Regions from separate parts of the Homo sapiens genome. Here region 2 is linked to region 1. Evidence: promoter capture Hi-C in human tissues and cell types (Jung and others, 2019). All regions are on one chromosome and are shown on one strand. The core of a region is centred on a gene start or on the middle of the fragment in contact, and the rest is flanking DNA. Distances in the headings are between cores, read along the strand shown.

Evidence for each region. The method cuts DNA at HindIII sites, captures the fragments that hold promoters and counts their contacts. A contact is called where the count stands out against the background at its distance.
Region 2: a contact is called between a fragment that was not itself captured here and the fragment with the promoter of CCL27 in region 1, in 1 of the 25 tissues and cell types used here (hippocampus).

Annotation. Positions count from the first base shown.
Region 1 is chr9:34,659,300-34,664,748 of GRCh38, reverse strand. It overlaps CCL27 (C-C motif chemokine ligand 27), which reads left to right and starts at 2,092. Exons shown (of 3, transcript NM_006664.4): 1 at 2,092-2,185; 2 at 2,333-2,465; 3 at 2,670-2,859. The coding sequence starts at 2,116. The coding sequence ends at 2,805. IL11RA (interleukin 11 receptor subunit alpha) reads right to left here. Exons shown (of 13, transcript NM_001142784.3): 9 at 4,849-4,990; 10 at 4,356-4,475; 11 at 4,149-4,245; 12 at 3,813-3,895; 13 at 2,847-3,267. The coding sequence ends at 3,251. LOC730098 reads left to right here. Exons shown (of 3, transcript NM_001320038.2): 3 at 1-586. RefSeq lists an enhancer at 4,620-5,121. The HindIII fragment of the contact is 14,352 bases long and covers 1-3,995 here.
Region 2 is chr9:35,459,627-35,465,177 of GRCh38, reverse strand. It overlaps the pseudogene ATP8B5P. Among named protein-coding and RNA genes, the nearest start is that of RUSC2, 28 kb to the left of the region's middle. The HindIII fragment of the contact is 6,634 bases long and covers 1-5,551 here.

The sequences.
Region 1 (5,449 bases), core at 843-3,342:
TCTGAAGAATCTTCTCTGCTGGGAGTATATCTAAAACATTTTAAGCAGAGGTGTAGGATGCAGGCTGTAAATGGTAAGAGGGGGAGATTCCTAGAAGCTGCCTGCCACAGAGGAGCGACTTGGGTTGGCGACCTTTCCTACAGTTCATACCCCAACTTTTGGCTCCTCCAGTCTGATCCCAAGTTTAGAGATCCTTGGCATCAGCCTACCTAGAAGTTCTTGCTCCCTCCCTAGGAGAGTCCAAGGGCCACTGCTCTTTGCCGCCCCCTTCTGTCACCCAATCAGCCTGGGACCCACTAACTCCTCAAGTGGTGAGAATCAGGGACTGCTATGTGGGCCTGCCTTCAGTTAGGGACTGGACCCAGCACCAGAAAGGGCACCACAAGATTAAGTTAAAGAAAGAGATGGCCCAGTTTCTGGCTGGGGCCAAAGCTACAGCAGATTGTGGCTGGGGAGAAGACTTGGTCTTAAAGGGGAGAGATGGGTGCACACCCAAAAGCATTTGTTTTCTGCCTTCCGAAGACTTCTGGACCGACAAGCCCAGGGAAGACCAGAAAGTATGTAGCGCACAGCCAAGTGATGAAGAAGGTCTATGACAAGCCCGAGGAACCTGGGAGATTTCCTTGGGATTTCCTCAGTGGCTACACCCAACAAGCCTTGGGACACAAGAGAAAGGCCTAAGCCCTATCCCAAGAGAAAGCCTACTCCATAGAGAGTGGCTGACCCTACAGCAGACGACTGCAACAAGATAAGGGCTGGATTACTGTGTTATGACTTGGTTTATGTTTCAAATATAGAGCAGGACTTGCAGATTGAGATCCCTGGACCAGGAGTGGGAAATTCTTAAAGGAGCCAGGGGCACTGAACTTGGCAGCATACCCCCACCCTAGGCAGCTCCCAGCTTCCTGGAAAGGACTGGATAAAGATGAATAGGAGCTTTGCATTGCAGGGAGGGGGTAAAGAACGGAGTGACAGCTGGGTATGGGATTAGGAGAGAAGCGGCTATAGCTGGAGGGTGGGATGCAGGGGGTATAGCAGTTGGACATGAGGGTGTGACTGAACCCGGGTAGGGAGAGGGGATGTTCCTCCAGGCCCAGGAAGGAGGCTGGAATTTGAGTAAAACAAAGATGTAATTGAGTGCTTGAGTCCAATGTCTTCAACAAGTCAGGGACTGGATCTGGAGACCCTAGGCCCCTGCTGGCAAGAGGTTGGCATTCCTGGAACAGGACTAGACAAAAACAGGAAGGTAAGATTCACTGGGCCTTTTACCTGTTTTGACAACAGTAACCTAGCACCAAAGAGCTTTTATCTTCCCTCCTTATCTACCCCACCTTTCCTCCCTGTCTCATCATCCTGGGGAAAGCTGCCCCACCTCAGCATCTCCAAAACACCCTTAATATTACCATAAAGGGCCTTCCCCCAGCTTCTCTGAATGGGGCTGGCCTCAGCCAAGAACCCTCCTCAGCCAGAAGGGCCTGCTCTAGGGACCCATTCCCATCCATTTCTTCTGATAAGACAGGCAGGCCAAGCCAGGAAGTGGGGAGGAGAAGGTGAAGGCAAGTTGGTGCTTGCCTGCCCTCTGCTCCCACCCCACCCACAACTCCCCTGTCAGAATCTGTGTGTGCTAGTGTGAATTTGCTTGTGATTGGATGACTGTGAAAACACAATTGGGTGGGAGAGGGACTTTGAGTATAACCGGGGCTATATAATTTTGTCTACGGTTGTCTGATCATGAGTATGACTTTGTGAGGTTGACCAAGTGATTGAGGAGTGACTTTGAATGTGTGGCTATGCGTATTTGAGTGTGAATGTCTATCATTAGATGCTGCTGTGGATGCTTGACTGCCCTTACTCACTGTTCCATCAGTCCCTACATCACACACTAATCCTTCCCCCAGCTTCACTGCCCAGAGCTTAGGAGCACATGGGAAATGGCTATCCTAGATGAGGAAGGAGTCTGTGGCAACAGGCCGAGAATTAGGGCCCAGGAGTGTCACAGGTTACACAGTACATCTCCAACTGCCTCTGACTCACCTAGTGCCCCAGGTAAAAGGCACCCAGATAAAAGGTAGGGGAGGAGGAGAGAGAGAGAAGGAAGAGTCTAGGCTGAGCAACATGAAGGGGCCCCCAACCTTCTGCAGCCTCCTGCTGCTGTCATTGCTCCTGAGCCCAGACCCTACAGCAGGTGAGTACTTGGGGGTATAGAAAGCTGGGGGTCTGGGTGAATGGGATGAAGTTGAAAAGACCCAGGAAATCCAACCTAACCTCCAGCTGTCTGGCAGAGAGGTTCTTGGTCAGGATCCCTCTGAACACATGGCCCTGTTGCCCCTAGCATTCCTACTGCCACCCAGCACTGCCTGCTGTACTCAGCTCTACCGAAAGCCACTCTCAGACAAGCTACTGAGGAAGGTCATCCAGGTGGAACTGCAGGAGGCTGACGGGGACTGTCACCTCCAGGCTTTCGTGTGAGCTCCCACCCCTGATACCCCTGACTCTGACCTCAGTCCCAACCCCTAATGCTGATCCCAACCCCAGCCCTAACTGCTAATTCTGTTGCCAACTCAGGTTTTCATCTGGTCCTTGCTCCTAACCCCTAATTAGGGTCATTGGGGATGACCCTAATCTCATCCCCAAGCTATGGTCATAGCTTTGGACCTTTCTCTACCCAGGCTTCACCTGGCTCAACGCAGCATCTGCATCCACCCCCAGAACCCCAGCCTGTCACAGTGGTTTGAGCACCAAGAGAGAAAGCTCCATGGGACTCTGCCCAAGCTGAATTTTGGGATGCTAAGGAAAATGGGCTGAAGCCCCCAATAGCCAAATAATAAAGCAGCATTGGATAATAATTTCTGAGTATAATCTCCAAGAACTTCCTTATTCTCTTTATTCACACCTGCACAACCCCTGCAAGGGGAAAGGCCAAGAGCCAAGGACCCACACACACTCCCCAGGCACCTACATACATGCATGCAGAGAATACATGTTCCCTGCCTCACAGACACATGGTCACACATGGACACAGATGTACACATTACACACGTTCCTTGAGCAGAACTCCAACTCTGGGGTGAAATCAGAGGTACAAGCACCTTTCAGCTGCAAATTTGAAATACAGGGTCTCACAGAAATGGGCTCCAAACAGAACTTCCAGCTGAGATCCAACCATAGGGATCTACTGTCCTGCCTGGTTTCTATCCACACCAGCAAGACAGAATTATAGGTGGAATCTGCCGAAGCCCTCCTGGGTCCTCTACAGGTTTGGAGCTCCTAGAAGAAGCAGGAGGCAAATCAGGAGAGACAGTAAGACCGGATCTTGGCCCAGACACCCTGAGAATGAGGGAGGTGACTCAGTTCTAAGCTTAACACTCTGAAGATGAGTAGAGGAGCCCAGCTCTGAGGGAGCCTCTTCAACACACTGAAGATACGGGAGTGGACCTAGCTCTGGGCCCAGGCACATTAAGAATGAAGGAGGGGACCTAGCACTGATCCAAGACACCTTGAAAAAAAAGGATGAATATCCAGCTCTGAGTCTAATACCCTGGAAGAGTATTAGTACTAATACTAATACCCTGAAGGGAAGTCCACCTGGGGTCCTTCCTCAGTACCCTGAGAGGAGGGAAAGAGACCCACTTCTGAGCCCAGGGACTCAAGAATGAAAGGCCCAGCCCTCAGCCTAGACATCATTAAAATGAGGAGACCCAACTTGGATTCCCAGCATGTTTTAAAATGACTAGGGCAGCCAGCTCTTAATCTGGACACTCAAAATAGGGGCAAACATCTCCAAGTCCAAATCTTCTGGATGTCCTACTCACCTGGACGCCTGTCCACTGGAATCACTGAGGCCAAGAACCCAGGCTTTGGGGATCCATCCTTCCCACCCCGTCTCAGCCTCAGCCTGGGGCATAGAAAGGCAGCTGTCTCTCCAACAATGTGGGTTATCTCAGTCTCCGCCAAAGGGTTTATTAGTAAAGGGTCAGGAGAGGAATCAGTTAAAATCAAGTGGGGCATGGGGGATGGAGGTATGGGGAGGTAGTTCCAGAATCAGACAGGTTCAGCGGGCAGTCATGAAGGGTGGAGATGAATGTGGTCTATGGGCATCAGAGCATGTGTGAGGATCAGAGGCTGAGGGACCAATGGCAGTCACTTACCAGAGCCCCAGTGCCAGGGCCCCAGCCACCAGTCCCAGGAAAGAAAGGATTCCCAAAGACGCCAGCACAGCTACCTGCTCCACAGAGTCCCTGTGATCTGAGGGGGAGGGCCACATGTCACTGAGAGCAAGCCTGACCAAGCTCGGTGTCCCCTTTTCTCTGGGGTTTTCAGTCCTTTACAAGTCTTGCCCATCTGCCCAAGCTCACCAAGTAGCCGAGGGTGTGGTTGGAGGGAGGGCCTTGGAGGAGCAGGGCTGTCCACCTGAGGCTCCACCTCTGGCTGCGTGTGTAGCTGGCCCCATGCTGGTATCTCCTTTGGTATGGTCCCTAAAGGAAGGCAAGACCCAATAAGTGTCCATACGCTGGTGGGGACGGGGGTCACGTCCTGTGCTCAAGGCCAAGGCCTAGGTTGGAAGTCAAGGTACCTAGGAGGAGGAGCCTGATAGGGCATGGCCAGCTCCTAGGGAGCATGGCAAGCTCCAAGCTTGTAGAAGTGGAGCCTGTAACTGCAGGGGTGGAGGCCAAGGGGCAGGACTTAAGCTAAGACAGGGCTGTAGGCAAACAAGTCTGAAGTCTGGGACAGCAATTGCCGTGCCTGTGTGGGCAGGGCATGTGCCACCTGCCTGTCTTTTGGAACTGGTTCAGCTGATAGATGCTTTGGGATGGGGCCTCTGCCCTTTTCTTTGGCTTTGTCTCTCACCAGTGCTCGGAGTTCCCCAGGCCTCCGGGCTCCAGGTGCTCCAGGTGCCAGCATCTAGAAAGTCCCGGGCACTGACTCGTACAGCATGGGGCAGCCCAGCCACAGCATCTGTGATCACCTCCTCCAGTCCAGCTGGCTCCACCTGGGGGTAAACATGACTCACTGTTACCCAGCTTGTAAGTGCAGGGCCTTCCCAGCCACCATCTACAAAGAGCACCCCTTGCTCCCAGTCTCATCCTAAAGCCTAGTGGAGCTGTCTAGGTCTCATGTTGGGTGTCTGGTGGAGCTGAGTCTACACCTAGTGTTTGTAAGACGGCAGTAGTGATTACTTAGAGAGGCTGTGGCATCAGGCAGCCTGGGTTCAAATCTTTGGTGAACCACATATTGAATGACCCTTTGGGCCTCTCTGTGACTCAGTTTCTTCATTTGTAAAATAGAGGTGAATCTACCTAAACAAAACAATGTATGCAAAAAGTGTAGCCAGGTACCCCACAGGCAGGCAGCACTAAGTAAATATTAGTTATTATCTGATGCTGCTGCTCCCTAGTCCTGATACCAGCCAATCTTTAACATCTCCTGAGACACAAATTCACTGCTATCC
Region 2 (5,551 bases), core at 1,759-4,258, 800 kb before region 1:
AAAGCTATTCTCATGGTTCAGATAAAGCCTCAGTGAATTATTGATCTGAGTTTGAGTTCTACTGCTCAAACTAAGCCACCAGAAAGGAAGACCACTTCTTATCAGCCCAAGCCCCAGAAAGCAGGGCTACCCTGACAGCCTGAATCCTGAAGGTGTAGGGCACAGTGTTTTCTTTCTTCATTGCTAGAGCTTTTCCTGCCATCATGAGGCCTTCAAAGCCCTTGCAGATGTTCTACATTTCTTTTTATTGTGATAGGGTTTTTTGGTACTTAGTCTTTAAAGCTTCACTTTACTTCCTTTCCATAAGGAGAAAGAAACAATAAATCATCAGTTTGTTTGGTTATTGCTACAGACCCTAGAGATTACTTAATACCAGAGCTAGTCAGACCAAAGAAGCACAGACAGCCTCCCATTTAGCAAAAAGTGGCTTCAATAAAGAGTGAAATAAATAATTTTGTCACTCTTGACAAAACTGACCAAAATCAAGGCCACTGGTCTCATAAAGGTGCTCCCTGGCCTCAGGCAGCCTGTCAAAAGAAAGCACTCCTTGGGCTTTTGGCCCTTCACATCTGTGTTTTACATTGTGCCTTACCCCAGAAGGAGATCCTGGATCTCTGGCACCATTTCAATTTCATGCACTTTGCTCATTTGTCTCACAAATACACTCCTAGTTAACAGATCATGATTTAGAAGGCATTGTCACTGGGAGTTCTGGTCACTGGGGAGAGAGAAGGGATCTAACCCCCAGCTCAGCGGTGGGCTCATCAGGAAGGAGCTTTGCTAAACGTGCTTCCTGTGTCTGCCAGATTTTCTTCTAAGAGGCATTTCCAAAAAATGGGGGAAAATGAAGTGTTTAAATCAGGAAGGATTTCTGGTTCAGTTTACTTCAAGAAATGGAAGTGTTTTACATATGACTAATTGACAATGTCCTGGCACAAATACCACAGAAACAAAACTGCTGAGCTGATAAGAACCTAGCTAATTCAAGAACATTTCTTCATTTAATAATTCAATAGAGATTTACTAAGCACTACTTTGTGCAAGGCACTTCCAAAAATATGAAGATGAATATGGTGTAATTTCTACTGTAGAGGCTCATAATCTGTTGGCTAAGACGTTCATTCATTTTTTTCACTCACTCAACAAATAATAATGAAGCTCCCATTATATGTCAAGGATCGTTCCAGGGACTTAGGGACACAGTGGTGAAAAAAGACAACATCCTTGTGGAGAGAGGTAGACAACAAACAAGAAATGAAAAAAATACCATTTAGTGATAAATGCTGTGAGGAAAATAAAACAGGTTAATAGAATAGAGGGTCTTGATGGGGGTGTTAGAGACCTTTTATCTGAAAAGGTAGCATTAAATGATGAAAAAGAAGCAAGCCATGCAAAGACTTGGGGGCAGACATTGCCAGCAAGGGTAAAGGTCCTAGGGTAGGAACAAGTTTGCTCTCTTACTTGACTTGCAGTTTTCCTGGGTACAGATTTCTAGGTCAAAATATTTTTCACTAAGAACTTTGAAGGTATGACCCTACTGGTTTCTAGGACCCAATGGTGCTTTTGAGAAATCCGATACCAATCTGCTTCCCATTTTTGTTAATATCTTATTTTTATCTCTATAAGAATTTTAAAGGGATTTCTCTTCTCTGTAACTAAACCTTTCTAGTTTGATCCTCTGTTTAAAAACAAATTATTTCTCTAATATTTTCTGTCTCTGTGTCTTTTTGTTTTATGGTCCAGGAGAGATTTTAATCCTTTAATGGGTTTTAAAAAAATATTAGCAATCCCATTTTTGATTTCCCAAATTCTATTTTGTTGTTGTTCTTAGATATTTTTCTTCTTTCCCCCTTTTAAAGCAACCTATTCTTATTTTATATATGTAATTGTTTCTTTTCTCTGAGACTAGTCATAAAAATGTTTTAAAGTTCTTTTCTTTTCTCTTCCCTGAAATATAATTTGTTTATTCTAGGTTCAGGTATTTTTTTTTAAGATGGGATATTGCTAAGTTGCCCAGGGTAGAGTGCAGTGGCTGTTCTCAGGTGCAGTAATGGTGCACTATAGCCTTGAACTCATGGGCTCAAGTGATCCTCTTGCCTTAGCCTCCTAAGTAGCTGGGAACCACACCCAGCTTCCAGGGTCAGTTATTCTATTTGTTCATCCTCATCCACCTTTTTATGCTACTTGTTTCCCTCTAGTCCACTTAAAAATATAAGTAAAATAATAGTTTGATTATTATAGGTTGCTGGAGTAGATTTCATTTCTTTTGGTTAATTTTGTTTTCCTAACAGGCCACTCCCTTGAATGGGAAACCATGAGTTCTCTGTTGGTAGAAAGAATACGTTTTTTAACAAATTTCACCCTAGGATGTACAAGAAACTTGCAGGCAAACTCAAGCCCCCCAAATTTAAAATTAAGTGGGTTTTACTCTAAGTGCTGACACTCAGATTTACAAGCCTTAGTTCTCTGCAGGTAGGTTGTTAAATTTCTTTCAAAAGCAGTTCTTTTGTTTGGGACTGGTTATTAATCCTTTGTCAGATGGACAGTTTGCAGATATTTTCTCCCATTCTGTGGGTTGTCTCTTCACTTTGCTAATTGTTTCTTTTGCTGTGCAGAAGATTTTAAACTTAATGTGATCCCATTTTGTCAATTTTTGCTTTGGTTGCCTGTGTGCTGGGATTATAATGAGCTCAAATAACTCTACAGGAAAAAACCTAATAGTCCAATTTAACAACGGACAAAAGATCTGAATAGATACTTCTCAAAAGAAGACATACAGATGGCAAACAGGTATATGACAAGGTGCTCAACATCACTGATCATCAGAGAAATGCAAATCAAAACTACAATGAAGCCAGGTATGGTGGCTGATTTCTTATTGCTCAACGTCCTTTTCTTTCTAGTTTAAGGACTCTCTTCAGCATTTTTTTGTAGGACAAGTGTGATGTTAATGAAACTGCTCAACTTTTGTTTGTCTGGAAAAATCTTTCTTTTTCCTTCATGTTTGAAAGATATTTTTACTAGATATACTAGTCTAGGTAAAGTTTTTTCCCCTTCAGCATTTTAAATATGTCATGCCACTCTCTCCTGTTAGATATGAGTTCTAAATTTCTTTTCAGAGAATTAATATGTCAGTATATTCAGTTATTTGCCTTCTACTTTTAAACTTAACTTCCTCATAAAGCAACCTTTTTCGATTACCTACTCCACCCTGACTCATTCTGATCACCTGCTCCACCCGAAATCATTCCAATTACCTGCTACCTGCTCTTCTGCCCTGACTCCTGCCAAAGCACTCACCCCATCATTCTCTTTAAATTAGCCAATCGGAATTAGTTTAACCTGTGTGGTCTAACCCTAGCCAATAGGGGAATGACACAGCAGCAGGGACCACGTACACCAGGGATAAGAACCCCTTCCCCTCCCTTGTCCAAGTGTGCATTCACCATTGTTCCATCTGTAAGGGCACACCCTTCTATATAGAAGTAACTTGCCTTGCTGAGAATTAAAAAGAAAATTTTATATTTGAATGCTATTTCTTTTGTGGCACCAAAACTTTATATATAACAATTTGGGGGGCTCGTCCAGGATTACATTCCCCTCCAGGACTGTCTCTGGTTCTCTCTCGTGAGGAGGTGCACCCGGCCCTATTGTGGCGGCCTCAGGGGTGAGAAATCAAGACCCACCCAGTGTGAGGAATAACCTGAGCTCTTAACAACACGAGGGGTCAGGGAGAGGGGGTACTGGCCAGCAACCTAGCTTAAATGATCCTCACATACTGCAGTGATGACTCTGCACAGACCAAGGAAGGAGATGCCATGGGAGCCCGTAAAGTACTTCCTTGGTGGTCAAATTCTGGAGGGCTAAATGTGTGTGTGTGTGAATGATCACCAACAACCCTGCTTGTGGTGTTATTCATGTGGATGGTGACAAGTCCTACTGCTCGACGGAGTGAGTGGGTCCTCTCTGCAGTTCCACAGCTACCTCATATGGCTTAGGGCGGATCCTGCCATAGGATTTATACTGGCATGCCAACACTAAGAAGGGCCTGATTCTACCTTGGGGGAGCAGCCAGAGAGGGCAGCATGAGTAGGAAGTGTGCAAAGGACCTTCAGAGGGGGAAAAGGGGAGAAACAGATCAACCTTCCAGGACAGGCAAGACACCCCTGGTTTGAGGGGTTGAGCCTTCCAGGACAGGCAAGACACCCCCTAGTTTGAGGGGTTGAGCCTTCCAGGGCAAACAAGGCAAGATGCCCCCTGGTTTGAGGGGTTGAGCCTTCCAGGACAGGCAAGACACCCCCTGGCTTGAGGGGTTGAGCCTTCCAGGACGGGCAAGGTGAGACATCCCTGGTGTTGAGGGGTTGAGCCTTCTGCTAATTTCAAGGGTTGAACCTGACACAACCCCCCCGCTGCCCTTTCCTTTCTTCTTGGGGGAAGAGAGAGTAGTTCCACTCCCGTAGGTCCCTACCCTAGGGGAAGAGAGAGAGAGACAGAGAGAGACAGACAGAGAGGAGAGCGAGATAGAGACAGAGAGGAGAGAGGGAAAGAGAGGCAGAGACAGAGAGAGAGGGAAAGACGCGGTGGGGGGGAAGAGAGGCAGAGAGAGACAGAGAGGGGATAGAGGCAGAGAGAGACAGAGAGGGGAAAGAGGCAGAGAGAGAGGGGAAAGAGAGGTGTGTGGGGGGGAAGAGGCAGAGAGAGACAGAGAGGGGAAAGAGGGAGAGAGAGAGGGGAAAGAGAGGTGTGTGGGGGGGGGAAGAGGCAGAGAGAGAGAGGGGAAAGAGAGGCAGAGAGAGAGGGGAAAGAGGCAGAGAGACAAAGAGGGAGTCAAAGAGAGAAAGAGAGAAAGTCAAAGAGAAAGAAAGAGAAAAATAGAAGTAGTAAAGAAAAAAACAGTGTACCCTATTCCTTTAAAAGCCAGGGTAAATTTAAAACCTATAGTTGATAATTGAAGGTCTTCTCTGTGACCCTATAACACTCCAATACCACCTCTTTGTCAGTGTAAACAAGGGTGTAGCCCGAAAGCACTGAGGCCACTGACAATCTGTAGCCTTCCTATCAAAAATCCTTAACCCAGTAACCAGCAGATGGCCCAAATGCACTCAATCTATAGCGGCAACTGCTTTACTAACAGAAGAAAGTAGAAAAATAACTTTTAGAGGAAACCTCATTGTGAGCACACCTCACCAGTTCAGAACTATCCTAAGTCAAAAAGCAAAAAGGTAGCTTACTAAAAAATCTTAAAGTATAGGGCTATTCTGTTAGAAAAAGATGATTTATCATTAACCACTGAAAATTCCCTTAACCCAGCAGGTTTCCTAACTGGGGATTTAAATCTTAATTACCATACAAAGGTCCGACCAGACCTAGGAGGAACCCTCTTCAGGACAGGACGATAGATGGTTCCTCCCGGTTGATTGAGGGGAAAAAAAAAAAAACAAACGACAGTGGGTATTCAGTAATTGATAGGGAAACTCTTGTAGAAGCAGAGTTAGGAAAATTTCCTAATAACTGGTCTGCTCAAACCTGCAAGCTGTTTGCACTCAGCCAA